3 separate regions of the Homo sapiens genome follow, and regions 1 and 3 are each linked to region 2. The links are contacts of gene promoters, found by promoter capture Hi-C in human tissues and cell types (Jung and others, 2019). All regions are on one chromosome and are shown on one strand. Each heading gives the region's core, a stretch centred on a gene start or on the middle of the fragment in contact. The rest is flanking DNA. Distances are from core to core; before and after follow the strand shown.

Region 1 (4,121 bases), core at 1,099-3,598, 590 kb after region 2:
GAAATCATCCGAAAAACAAACACACCTGAGAAACGTACTACACAAGCTCTGGGGCAAAAAAAATAAATAAAGGCTTTTAAAAAATGGAATAGAAGATTACATATACCATTTATATTCTGAAGTCCAACTCTTTCTAGTATTACTTATAAAATTTATTTTCTGAAGTCCGACTCTTTCCAACTTTGGGTATACTTTGTCTTCAAAGTATAAAATAACAATCTCTAATCATAGGATGTATTTCACGGTTAATCAAAAATTTAGGCTGAAAAGAGTAAACATATCTTTTCAAGCTAACAAACTCAGGAATCAGCAGTGCTGACTGGAACACAGAAAAGTCTAATGCAACAATCAGTGCAGGTCATCCTATCACCTGGGACATCCCTTAACCCTATTCTGTTCGCCACCCTCCTAGGAGACACTCACCACCCTCCTAGGAGACACTGCCTTGTGTGCTTTTCAGGATCTTGCACTACCTCAAAGGGCAGGTTCTCCAGTCCTTAGATATAACTTTCTACCTTTTAAGTCTGAGAGAGTCCAGAAGGCAAAAATCATTTCCGTTTTTTTTCCTATGGAATATGACCATGAAATTGGCTGTTCAGTCATGTGTCTCCAAGGAATGGAAACTAGGGTTGGGAAGAAAAGGTGAGTGTCCCAGGAGTTAGCTTTTTACAGGAATTATATACCAGAAGATTCCTCCCATCCCAGTGGATCCAGTTGCTCCCCAGGGGGCCACACCTTCCATCTCAGGCTGTCCCCTGGGAGGAGTGACCCAGGGGATGATATTCACTAGACCCTCCAAGAGACTTGGCAGCTGTGGACATCCATTTTTTTTGAGACAGGGTCGGCCTCTGTTGCCTAGGCTGGGATGCAGAGGCACGATCATAGCTCACTGCAACTTCAAACTCCTGGGCTCCAGCCATCATCCCACCTCAGCCTCAGGAGTAGCTGCGACTACAGGTGCCAGCTACCAAGCCCAGCTAATTTTATTATTATCATTTACACTAGAGACAAAGTCTTGCCATGTTGCCCAGGCTGGTCTGGAACTACTGGGATCAAGCAATACCTCTGCCTTAGCCTCCCAAGGTGCTGGAATTACAGGAATGACCCACCGTGTTCAGGAACCCAAAACAATTCTTTCAAGAAAAAGCCATACATTGCTAGCTGAAAACAAGATGACAAACTAGTGAAATATCGCCTGGGGCCAAACAGTTCATACTGTTGCTGTGAATTAAGGACAGAAGGTTAGCCTGGGGAAGTCTCTGGAAACCAAGAGATTTGCTGCCAGCCCTAGGAAGAGTCAGGATGAGAGAACACAGTGGTGGATTTGAGACCCTGCTGCCCACGTCTTTGGAAGACTCAGAGGGGAAACGGTCGCCCTTGGAAAGGAAGAAAGGACTGAGGACCACGGAAACCACAGCTCCTCCCACACACAAACCCCACACACGAGTCTGGATTCCACCTGGTGACTCGTCGTCACCGTGCAGCCTCCTCACCGGGTTCACAGGAACTGCGAGCCAGGCTGGAGGCGAGATTGCAGTTAGATATTAAACAGGTGCCCTCAGCCCCGCTGCCTCAAGGGGCCGCCTCCCTGAGAGTCAGGTCACAGCAGACGCTGACCGCCGGCTTCCCCATTGTGCCTGGGGATAAGATCTCCGAGTGCTGCTCAAGAGTCGCCGGAGTTCTCAGATCCTGAATCCCAGCAGAAAGGCTGGCGCCAACCAGGTTGAAGACCCCACGAGGGAGCCCTCTCAGCAGAATGCGGTTTCTTCACCTCCTGTCCCAGGATTCACCCCTCACTTCCCCACCAACCAAGGACGCTACACCCAGCCGCCCCCGTCCAGACCCCAAATCCCTCAGGGAGGCGGATCTGGGGTGTCCTCCCCTCTCCTCCTGTTAAACCGTTTCTGCTGCAGCCCTCGGCGTCTCGGTGCAGTGAGTCGGGCCGCGAACCTGTGTTGGTTACAGCCGCACAATCTGGGGAGACCCGGGGCTGCGGGCTCGGAGCTGCCCAGAGAGGGCGCCGGGGCCGCAGTCGCCGCGCAGGAACGGGACAGGACGCCCGGGGTCCCGGCTGCATGCCCAGCCCCACCCTGCGGCCGAGGGCCGACCTACGCCAGGGGGACCCGGGTCCGTAGATCCCGAAGTCGCCCTTGGGGAGGCCCGGGTCCAGCCACAGCCGATTACGGCCGGTTCCACCTAACCCCTCCCCCGCCTCGGGACGCCGGCCCAGCACACGCACCATTTCCCGACTTCCGCGGTGTCCCAGGTCCTACCGACAGCTCCCGCTGCCAATGCGTGTTCCAGCCAGACAAAGGCTGCCTCAGAACTTCCAGGTCGTCTCTCAGCTACAGAACCCAGAGCCGAGCGCAGGTGGGTGGAGCAGACGCCGCGGGCTTTTTCAACCACACACACTTCTCTGGGCAGTGCCTGATTGACAGTTCCCACGAACCCGCCCCACGCCCCTGATTGGATAGGGCGTCAGGTCCCGCCCCCTGAGGGCTGATTGACAGAAGAAGCGATCTTGCACAGCTGAGTGGAGCCGGATGAGCAAGTTCCTGACACAGCCCTTGGCAGGGGGGGCTTCCTCCCTGCTCTTTGATCTGAATCCTCCCGGGTTATATTTGCACTTAAGCGGAATTTCCTGCCCGTACTCAATAGGACCTCCTGCTTCTTCCTCCTGGACACGGACTGACAAACTAATTATATCTTTTTTTTTTTTTTTCCTCGAGAGGGAGTCTTGCTCTGTCGCCCAGGCTAGAGTGCAATGGTGCGAGGCTCACTGCAACCTTCGCCTCCTGGGTGGGTTCAAGCAATTCTCCTGCCTCAGCCTCCCGAGTAGCTAGGATTACAGGCACGCGCCACCACCCGGCTAATTTTTGTATTTTTCAGTAGAGGCTGGGTTTCACCATGTTGGCCAGGCTGGTCTCAAACTCGTGACCTCGTGATCCGCCTACCTTGGCCTCCCAAAGTTCTGGGATTAGAGGCGTGAGCAACTGCGCCTGGCTCCAATTATGCTCTTTTTCAATGAAATTTTTCAAGATTTTTCAATGTACAATTAAATTATTTTTTACTATAGTCACTCTGTTGTGCTAGCAAATACTAGGTCTTATTCATTCTTTGTAACTATTTTTTATACCTATTAACCATCCCCACTTCCCCCATAACTACTCCTCGCTACTACTTTTCGCAGCCTCTGGTAACCATCCTTCTACACATTTTTGGTTGTTTGAGATGGGGTCTTGCTCTGTTACCTAGGCTGGAGTGCAGTGGGGCCATCATGGCTCACTGCAACCTCTACCTCCTAAGCTCAAGCAATCCTCCCACCTCAGCCTCTCAAGTAGCTTCAGATTGTTCACTGTTGGCATATAAAAATGTTATTGATTTTTGTGTGTTGATATTGTATACTGCAACTTTACTGAATTTATTTCTCAGTTCTAATACTTTTTTGGTGGAGTCTTTAGGTATTTCCAGATATAAGATCATATTATATGCAAACAAGGATAATTTGACTTCTTCCTTCCCAATATGGATGCCCTTTATTTCTTTTTTTTTCTTTTTTTTTTTTTTGTCTTATTGCTCTAGCTGGGACTTCAAGTACTGTGTTGAACAACAGTGGTAAAAGTGGGCATTCTTATTGTGTTCCAGATCTTACAGGAAGGGCTTTCAGTTTTTCCCCATTCATTATCATGCTAGCTGTGGGTCTGCCATATATAGCTTTTATTATGTTAAGGTATGCTCCTTCTTTACCCACTTTTTTTTAGGGTTTTTATCATGAAGGGATGTTAAATATTATCAAAAGCTTTTTCAGTGCACATTGAAATGATTATATGGTGTTTGCCCTTTATTCTGTTGAAATGATACATCACATTGATTGATTTGCATATATTGAACCATCCTTGCATCCCAGGGATAAAGCCCACTTGGTCATGATGAATGATCTTTTTGGTGTATTGTTAAATTCAGTTTGCTAGTATTGAGTTGAGGATTTTTGCATCAATATTCATCAGTGACACTGGCCTATAGTTTTCTTTTTCTGACATGTCTTTGTCTGGTTTTGGTGTCAAAGTAATATTGGCTTTGTAAAATAAATTTGGAAGTATTGCCTTCTCCTCTGTTTTTTG
Region 2 (4,658 bases), core at 1,692-4,191:
ATCCAGTCCATAGGGAAATATCACTACCTGCTGTGTTTTATAATTGGACCATCCAAGGGTTGTCAGGGTTTTCCCAGAGAGTTTTGTGGGATTTTTTTTTTTTTTTGAGACCAGGTCTTGCTGAAGTTAGTATGGCAGCATACTAACACATTAACCTGTCGAAAGCTTCCTGCAGAGCTGTGTCCCAGTCTCAAAGTGCCCCTTTCTAATAATTCTATATATTGGTATCAAACTTTGGGCTAAGTGTCAGATAAATGCTCTCCAATAATCCAAAGACCAACAAATGTCTGGATTTCTTTTTTCTTTTTTGTTTTTTAAGAGACATAGTGTGGTTCTGTTTCCCAGGCTGGAGTGCAGTGGTGGGATCATATAGCTCACTGCAGAAACTCCTGGGATCAAGGGATCCTCCTGCCTCAGCCTCCCAAGTAGCAGGGAATAAAGGCACATGCCACCATGCCCAATTGTTTATAAATTTTTTTGTACAGATGGAGTCTCACTGTATTTTCCAGGCTGTTCTTGAACGCCCAGGCTCAAGTGATTCCCCAACCTCAGCCTCCCAAAGTGCTGAGATTACAGTCATGAACCAATGCACCCAGCCCTGAAAAGGAAATATTTCGAATGGAAATTCAAAGGGAGAACATCTAATGTTCAAGTTGATGTCTATAGAGCAGTTAACGGGAACTATCATTTAGGGTCTGTGGGATTCTAGGACACTAGGTATGAAACAAATATGAGGAAGGTCAGAGAACAAGCTGACTTAATGATTAATGCTGAAGGTGCTGCCAGCTTGGTTTAAGTTTTCCTCCTCCCTTCCTCCCTGATGAATTTGATAAAGTTTAAAGGGATGGTTTCACCAGGGGCCTTTTACATTGACAGCAAGGAGGTCATCCGCCTGGTAAATCCTCAGTAGTCCAAGCCTCTTACATGGCTAGAATGATCCAGTCCATAAGGAAACGTCACCACCCTCTGTGTTTTACAATTAGACCATCCAAGGGGGTCAGGGTTTCCCCAGGGAATTTGGTGGGATTTTTTTTTTTTTGAGACCGTGTCTTGCTGAAGTACAGTAGCCTGATCAAAGCTCACAGCAGCCTCAAACTTTGGGGCTCGAGTAATCCTCCTGCCTCAGGCTCCTGAGTAGCTGAGACTAAGGGTACACACCACCTCTCCAGGCTAATAAAAAAAAAATTATGGAGATGGGAGTGTCTCACTTCACTGCTCAGGGTGGTCTTCAACTTCGGGCTTCAAGTGATCCTCCCACTTTGGCCTCCTAAAATGTTGGGATTGCAGGTGTAAGCCATGGCACCCGGCCTCCCAGGCTGTTGTTGAAAGGTCTTTGCAATCTCTAAGAGTTCTGCAGCAGTTTATTCCCTGACAGTGAGAGTCTCATCCTTTCACCCCATTTTGCAGCAGTAGTTGGGTGTTCACTTTTCTTTCCATAAGGAAGCGAGCTTGCCAGTGACCCTCATCCCCCTCCTCATCGATGACTTCTTTGTCATCAGAGCCTTCCTCTTCATAAATTCCCACGGAATCCAAGTTTTCACGTCCCAAATTATGATAGCCACAGGCCCTCACCAGCTGCCATAGCACCCCATTTCATGGAAGCCACCTGACTCTTCTTTGAGCATCCTGTCCCAGGAGCCCCCATCTGTGCTCTCCCGGGCTCCAGGCCCTAGAGCCGCGCTGCTGCAGAGCCCAGTTCCCAGGGCTGCTCCCTCCACGTATCCACATCCATCTCCAGCTTTCCACCCTTTCTCTGACCAGACAGGCCTGGAGGTGCTGCAGTGTCAGTGACCGTGGGTCCCTCCGCTGCCACCTCCACCGCGATCTGGAAGTCTTTTAAATGTACTTAAGTTATCTTAGAATTTTCCTTCCCCACTTTATACATAAACATAGGAGGAGAGCAGGGACTCTGCTGGTGTCTTATTCACACAATGGGATTGAGGGTGTTTGTGTCATGGAACTGATCAATGGGGTGAGAAGTAGCTGAATAACCTGCAGGGGCAGCAGAGCCCGAGGCCAGTGACTCCACGCTGAGGCCAGTCTGGAGCCTGCAAAGGAAGGGAAAGGAGCTTTTCCTGGGGGCTTCCTGGGCAGCCCGCCCTCCCCTACAGGTGGCCTCCAGCTGCTCAGAGCAGCTCCAGAAGGAGTGTGGATTCCGAGAAGCTGTAGGGCCCTGGAAAGCAGAAGACCTTCGTGCAGACGCATTTGTGGGGTTCTGTCCTTTCTGGTGTTGTACCTCTGGAGCCTGGGGCTGTCTTCTGGGCAGGGTTTGGGGTTTGACATACATGGGGTCGCTGGAGTCAGAGTTATTTGTATATATAAAGAAAATGTGTGAAAATCAGGCTAGAGACACAATTGTTTGGTGGCGTCACCTGGATAAAAGGTTTATGAGGTTGACAGTTTATTTAGGTCCGAAGCTTAACCCCAGGTGAGAGTTTCCTGCAGGTGAAAATGAAGATCTGGAAGGACGGAGCATTTTCATACTGTGAGGAGGGGATGGGGGTGTGTGAGCAAGTCTTGGCCATGCCTCATCCCCAATTCCGGCCCGCTCGAGGAAATATGCCTCTCCTCCTGGTGCAGTCTTGCCTGGCCTGGTCTCGGTTCCCCTGCTGCTCTGAGGCAGGAGATGGCTCCTGTGGACACTGAGTCTGAAATTCCCTGCACACTCCTGTGACCCCGTGCAGAACGAAGGAGCGGGGACAGTCCTTTGAGTGAGGAAGACGCTAGTGTTCTCTTCTAACAATAGCAAGTTTGGCTGAAATGCAACTATCCAATAACCCGAGTGCAGGAAGCAGCTCGTGTAAGCTTAGAGAAGCTGTTGCTAGAATCTGTCAGTCTGGCTCCGCAGGGCCTGATACCCAGGGCTTCCGCTGTCACTTAGACGTGGGGGGCGGGGCCGAACATTCCATCCAATCAGAGGCACTGGCTCGGGGCCCTGCCCACTGTGCATCCAGGCACGGAGGATGTTGCATTCCTGCCGTCACCTTTGTCGCTGCGAGGGCGGCGGTTGGGATCTGGCCTTTCCAGCCCCGAGAGGGACCTAGTGCCTCTACCCAGATTTCTGTCGCTCTGTCACCTGCGCTATGCCCTGCTTTACTCACAGGAGCTGTAGAGAGGACCCCGGTACATCTGAAAGCCGGGAAATGGTGCGTGTGCTGGCCGGGAGTGGTGCGATGGGGGAGGGGCTGCCTGGAACTGGCGGGACCCGGGCCTCCCTGTGGGCGACTCCGGGGTCTGGGACCGAGTCCTCCTAGAGCTGCTCGGCCCTCGGTCCCCGCGGCCGCTGGATGTGGGTGGGCCGGCAGCCGGGACTCCGGGCGTCCTGTCCCGTCCCTGCCCGTCGACTGCGGCCTTGGCCCCGAAGCCCTTTTGTGCAGCTCCGCGCCCGCAGCCCGACGCCCCAGCTTGTGCGGGGGCCACGGGAGGGTCATGCGCGGATTTCGACTCGGGTGTGGATTTCGTCCGTAGGAGGAGCAGCGGTCTGTGGGGCCCACAGCCTCCACTTTCTCCTGTTAAAAATTATACTGAGGTACGTTAACAAAAAGTTCATTTGAGGAAACAGCCATTCACGAATGAGAAACACCCGGTCCTGGCTTGTGGTTTGTCAACGGAAAAAAAACAGACTATGTAAAATACAGAAGTGTATTCAGAGCCGAGTAGGAGAGACCTTGGCCGAGGGAAACACAACCCCAAGCAGCCTGGAGTAAGTGGTCCGGAGGCGGCTCAGGACAGTTTGGTTTTATTCATTTCAGAGAGACAGGAATTGCAGGGAAAATGATGGATCAAGGCTGGAAGGTGTAAATTCCATTGGCAGAAAGGGTGGGACCTGTGGAAGGGGGGTTAGGAGGCACAGGTGGTTGAGGGATTCTGTAGGTGGCAGCTGGTTGAGAGTGTGAAGCTTTGTCTAAAGTTTGGAGGAGGTAGGAAGGAATGCTGAAGGAAGGGGGTCTGTTATCTGCCACTTCATTCCATCCCAGCCAAAAAACAGTCCTGTTTCTCTAGATTTTATGAATTCTAAGACGTAACTTTACCTTTGCCTTGCGTGGCCTTAGGTCTTGTTTGTAATTTGGTATCTTGTTGCCACAAGGAGTCTGTTTTTCCAGTCAGAGAATGTCTGTTTTTACATGAATGTGCGTCAGTTGCTGCATGTAAACTCCTAAAGGGAGAGGGTATAAGGAGACCTGTCTCACCTCCCATCCTGTCATACAGAGGCACTCAATTTTCAGGGTGTTTTGGGGGTTCCCTTGGCCAAGAGCCAGTCACTTCACTTAGCTGGGAAGGTACTTTGTTTGTTTTTGTTTTTGTTTGAGACGGAGTCTCCTTCTGTCGCCCAGGCTGGTGTGCAATGGCTCGATCTCGGCTCACTGCAACCTCTGCCTTCTGGGTTCAAGGGATTCTCCTGCCTCAGCCTCCTGAGTAGCTGGGATTACAGGCACGCACCACCACCCCCAGCTAATTGTTGTATTTTTAGTAGAGATGGGGTTTCACCATGTTGGCCAGGCTGTTCTCAAACTCCTGACCTCAAGTGATCCACCCCCCTCGGCCTCCCAAAGTGCTGGGATTACAGATGTGAGCCACATCGCCATGCCAGAAGATATGTTTTTATTTTTGTTTTACATGTTTAAGGCTAGGCTTTTATAAGGTACATGAGGAGACAA
Region 3 (4,473 bases), core at 876-3,375, 550 kb after region 2:
AATCAGCAGTGCTGACTGGAACACAGAAAAGTCTAATGCAACAATCAGGGTGGGTCATCCTATCACCTGGGACATCCCTTAACCCTATTCTGGTCATCACCCTCCCAGGAGACACTGCCTTGTGTGCTTTTCAGGATCTTGCACTACCTCAACGGGCAGGTTCTCCAGTCCTTAGATATAACTTTCTACCTTTTAAGTCTGAGAGAGTCCAGAAGGCAAAAATCATTTCTGTTTTTTTTTCCTATGGAATATGACCATGAAATTGGCTGTTCAGTCATGTGTCTCCAAGGAATGGAAACTAGGGTTGGGAAGAAAAGGTGAGTGTCCCAGGAGTTAGCTTTTTACAGGAATTATATACCAGAAGATTCCTCCCATCCCAGTGGATCCAGTTGCTCCCCAGGGGGCCACACCCCCCATCTCAGGCTGTCCCCTGGGAGGAGTGACCCAGGGGATGATATTCACTAGACCCTCCAAGAGACTTGGCAGCTGTGGACACCCTTTTTTTTTTTTTTTTTTGAGACAGGGTCGGCCTCTGTTGCCTAGGCTGGGATGCAGAGGCACGATCATAGCTCACTGCAACTTCAAACTCCTGGGCTCCAGCCATCATCCCACCTCAGCCTCAGGAGTAGCTGCGACTACAGGTGCCAGCTACCAAGCCCAGCTAATTTTATTATTATCATTTATACTAGAGACAAGGTCTTGCCATGTTGCCCAGGCTGGTCTGGAACTACTAAGATTAAGCAATACCTCTGCCTTAGCCTCCCAAGGTGCTGGAATTACAGGAATGACCCACCGTGTTCAGGAACCCAAAATAATTCTTTCAAGAAAAAGCCATACATTGCTAGCTGAAAACAAGATGACAAACTAGTGAAATATCGCCTGGGGGCCAAACAGTTCATACCGTTGCTGTGAATTAAGGACAGAAGGTTAGCCTGGGGAAGTCTCTGGAAACCAAGAGATTTGCTGCCAGCCCTAGGAGGAGTCAGGATGAGAGAACACAGTGGTGGATTTGAGACCCTGCTAACCACATCTTTGGAAGACTCAGAGGGGAAACGGTCGCCCTTGGAAAGAAAGAAGGGACTGAGGACCACGGAGACCACAGCTCCTCCCACACACAAACCCCACACACGAGTCTGGATTCCACCTGGTGACTCGTCGTCACCGTGCAGCCTCCTCACCGGGTTCACAGGAACTGCGAGCCAGGCTGGAGGCGAGATTGCAGTTAGATATTAACCAGGTGCCCTCAGCCCCGCTGCCTCAAGGGGCCGCCTCCCTGAGAGTCAGGTCACAGCAGACGCTGACCGCCGGCTTCCCCATTGTGCCTGGGGATAAGATCTCTGAGAACTGCTCAAGAGTCGCCGGAGTTCTCAGATCCTGAATCCCAGCAAAGGCTGGCGCCAATCAGGTTGAAGTCCCAACGAGGGAGCCCATTCAGCAGAATGCGGTTTCTTCACCTCCTGTCCCAGGATTCACCCCTCACTTCCCCACCAACCAACGACCCTACACCCAGCCGCCCCCGTCCAGACCCCAAATCCCTCAGGGAGGCGGATCTGGGGTGTCCTCCCCTCTCTGGCTATTAAACTGTTTCTGCTGCAGCCCTCAGCGTCTCGGTGCAGTGAGTCGGGCCGCGAACCTGTGTTGCTTACAGCCGCACAATCTCGGGAGACGCGAGGCTGCGGGCGCGGAGCTGCCCAGAGAGGGCGCCGGGGCCGCAGTCGCCGCGCAGGAACGGGACAGGACGCCCGGGGTCCCGGCTGCATGCCCAGCCCCACCCTGCGGCCGAGGGCCGACCTACGCCAGGGGAACCCGGGTCCGTAGATCCCGGAGTAGCCCTTGGGGAGGCCCGGGTCCAGCCACAGCCGATTACTGCAGGTTCCACCCAGCCCCTCCCCCGCCTCGGGACGCCGGCCCAGCACACGCACCATTTCCCGACTTCCGCGGTGTCCCAGGTCCTCCGGACGGCTCCCGCTGCCAATGCGGGTTCCCGCGGGACACAGGCTGCCACGGAACTTCCAGGTCGTCTCTTAGCTACAGAGCCGAGCACCGAGCGCCCAGCGCAGGTGGGTGGAGAAGACGCCGCGGGCTTTTTCAACCACACACTCCTCTGGGAAGCGCGCCTGATTGACAGTTCCCACGAACCCGCCCCACGGCCCTTACTGGATACGGCGTCAGGTGCCGCCCCTCGTGGACTGATTGACAGAAGAAGCGATCTTGCACAGCTGAGTGGAGCCAGATGAGCAAGTTCCTGACACAGCCCTTGGCAGGGCGGGCTTCCTCCCTGCTCTTTGATCTGAATCCTCCCGAGGGATATTTGCACTTAAGCGGAATTTCCTGCCTGTACTCAATAGGACCTCCTGCTTCTTCCTCCTGTACACTGACTGACAAAACAATTATACTTTTTTTTTTTTTTTTTTTTTTTTTTCCGAGAGAGAGAGAGAGAGAGAGAGAGAGAGAGGGAGTCTTGCTCCGTGGCTCAGGCTAGAGTGCAATGGTGCGAGGCTCACTGCGACCTCCGCCTCCTAGGTGGGTTCAAACAATTCTGCCTCAGCCTCCCGAGTAGCTGGGATTACAGGTGCGCGCCACCACACCCGGCTAATTTTTGTATGTTTTAGTAGAGGCCGGGTTTCACCATGTTGGCCAGGCTGGTCTCGAACTCCTGACCTCGTGATCCGCCCACCTTGGCCTCCCAAAGTTCTGGGATTAGAGACGTGAGCCATCGCGCCTGGCTCCAATTATACTCTTTTTCAATGAAATTTTTCAAAATATTTCAATGTACAATTAAATTATTTTTTACTATAGTCACTCTGTTGTGCTAGCAAATACTAGGTCTTATTCATTCTTTGTAACTATTTTTTATACCTATTAACCATCCCCACTTCCCCCATAACTACTCCTCGCTACTACTTTTCCCAGCCTGTGGTAACCATCCTTCTACACGTTTTTGGTTGTTTGAGATGGGGTCTTGCTCTGTTGCCTAGGCTGGAGTGCAGTGGGGCCATCATGGCTCACTGCAACCTCTACCTCCCAAGCTCAAGCAATCCTCCCACCTCAGCCTCTCAAGTAGCTTCAGATTGTTCACTGTTGGCATATAAAAATGTTACTGATTTTTGTATGTTAATATTGTATCCTGCAACTTTACTGAATTTATTTCTCAGTTCTAATACTTTTTTGGTGGAGTCTTTAGGTATTTCCAGATATAAGATCATATTATATGCAAACCAGGATAATTTGACTTCTTCCTTTCCTTCCCAATATAGATGCCCTTTATTTCTTTTTTTTTTTTTTTTTGGACTTATTGCTCTAGCTGGGACTTCGAGTACTGTGCTGAACAACAGTGGTAAAAGTGGGCATTCTTATTGTGTTCCAGATCTTACAGGAAAGGCTTTCAGTTTTTCCTCATTCATTATCATGCTAGCTGTGGGTCTGCCATATATGGCTTTTATTATGTTAAGGTAGCTGCTTCTATACCCAGTTTTTTTTTAGGGTTTTTATCATGAAGGGATGTTAAATATTATCAAAAGCTTTTTCAGTGCACATTGAAATGATTATATGGTGTTTGCCCTTTATTCTGTTGAAATGATACATCACATTGATTGATTTGCATATATTGAACCATCCTTGCATCCCAGGGATAAAGCCCACTTGGTCATGATGAATGATCTTTTTGGTGTATTGTTAAATTCAGTTTGCTAGTATTGAGTTGAGGATTTTTGCATCAATATTCATCAGTGACACTGGCCTATAGTTTTCTTTTTCTGACATGTCTTTGTCTGGTTTTGGTGTCAAAGTAATATTGGCTTTGTAAAATAAGTTTGGAAGTATTGCCTTCTCCTCTGTTTTGGAATAGTTTGAGTAGGATTGGTATTAGTTCTTTTTTAAATGTTAGTAGAATTCAGCAGTGAAGCCACTGGGTTCTGGGGTTTTCTTTGCTAGCAGACTTTTTATTATGGCTTTGATCTCATTATTTGTTATTGGTCTGTTCAGGTTTTTTATTTCTTCATGGTTCAATGTTGCTATGTTCTATCTGCCTAGGAATTTATCAATTTCTTCTAGGTTTTCCAATTTATTGGCATATAGTTGTTCTTAGTTGCATTAATGATCCTTTGAATTTCTGCAGTATCAACTGTAATGTCTCCTTTTTCATCTCTAATTTTATTTATTTGGGCCTTTCTGTTTTTTTCTTAGTCTACCTCAAGGTTTGTCAGTTTTGTTTGTCTTTTCAAAAAACCAACTTTTTGTTTCATTGTTCTTTTCTATTGTTTCTTCATTTCAAATTCATTTATTTCTACTCTGATTTTTATTATTTCTTTTCTACTAATTTTGGGTTTGGTTTGCTCTTGCTTTTCTAATTCTTTAAAATGCATTCTTAGGTTGTTTATTTGAAGGTTTTCTTCTTCTTCTTCTTCTTCTTTTTTTTTTTGATGTGAGTTTTACTTCACTCTTGCAGCCTAGGCTGGAGTGCAATGGCGCAAT

The links. Contacts are between HindIII fragments. The study calls those that stand out against the background at their distance.
Region 1: the fragment with the promoter of ZNF443 here is called in contact with the fragment with the promoter of ZNF439 in region 2 in 2 of the 25 tissues and cell types used here (mesenchymal stem cells and mesendoderm cells).
Region 3: the fragment with the promoter of ZNF799 here is called in contact with the fragment with the promoter of ZNF439 in region 2 in 3 of the 25 tissues and cell types used here (bladder, mesenchymal stem cells and thymus).

The regions. Positions count from the first base shown.
Region 1 is chr19:12,438,673-12,442,793 of GRCh38, forward strand. ZNF443 (zinc finger protein 443) reads right to left here and starts at 2,349. Exons shown (of 4, transcript NM_005815.5): 1 at 2,240-2,349. The coding sequence starts at 2,242. RefSeq lists a silencer at 2,028-2,117 and an enhancer at 2,528-2,797. The HindIII fragment of the contact is 16,773 bases long and covers 1-4,121 here.
Region 2 is chr19:11,845,785-11,850,442 of GRCh38, forward strand. It overlaps ZNF439 (zinc finger protein 439), which reads left to right and starts at 2,942. Exons shown (of 4, transcript NM_001348719.2): 1 at 2,942-3,146. The coding sequence starts at 3,084. The HindIII fragment of the contact is 2,018 bases long and covers 2,612-4,629 here.
Region 3 is chr19:12,399,146-12,403,618 of GRCh38, forward strand. It overlaps ZNF799 (zinc finger protein 799), which reads right to left and starts at 2,126. Exons shown (of 4, transcript NM_001080821.3): 1 at 1,923-2,126. The coding sequence starts at 1,925. RefSeq lists enhancers at 1,421-1,510, 2,231-2,280 and a silencer at 1,741-1,900. The HindIII fragment of the contact is 18,323 bases long and covers 1-4,473 here.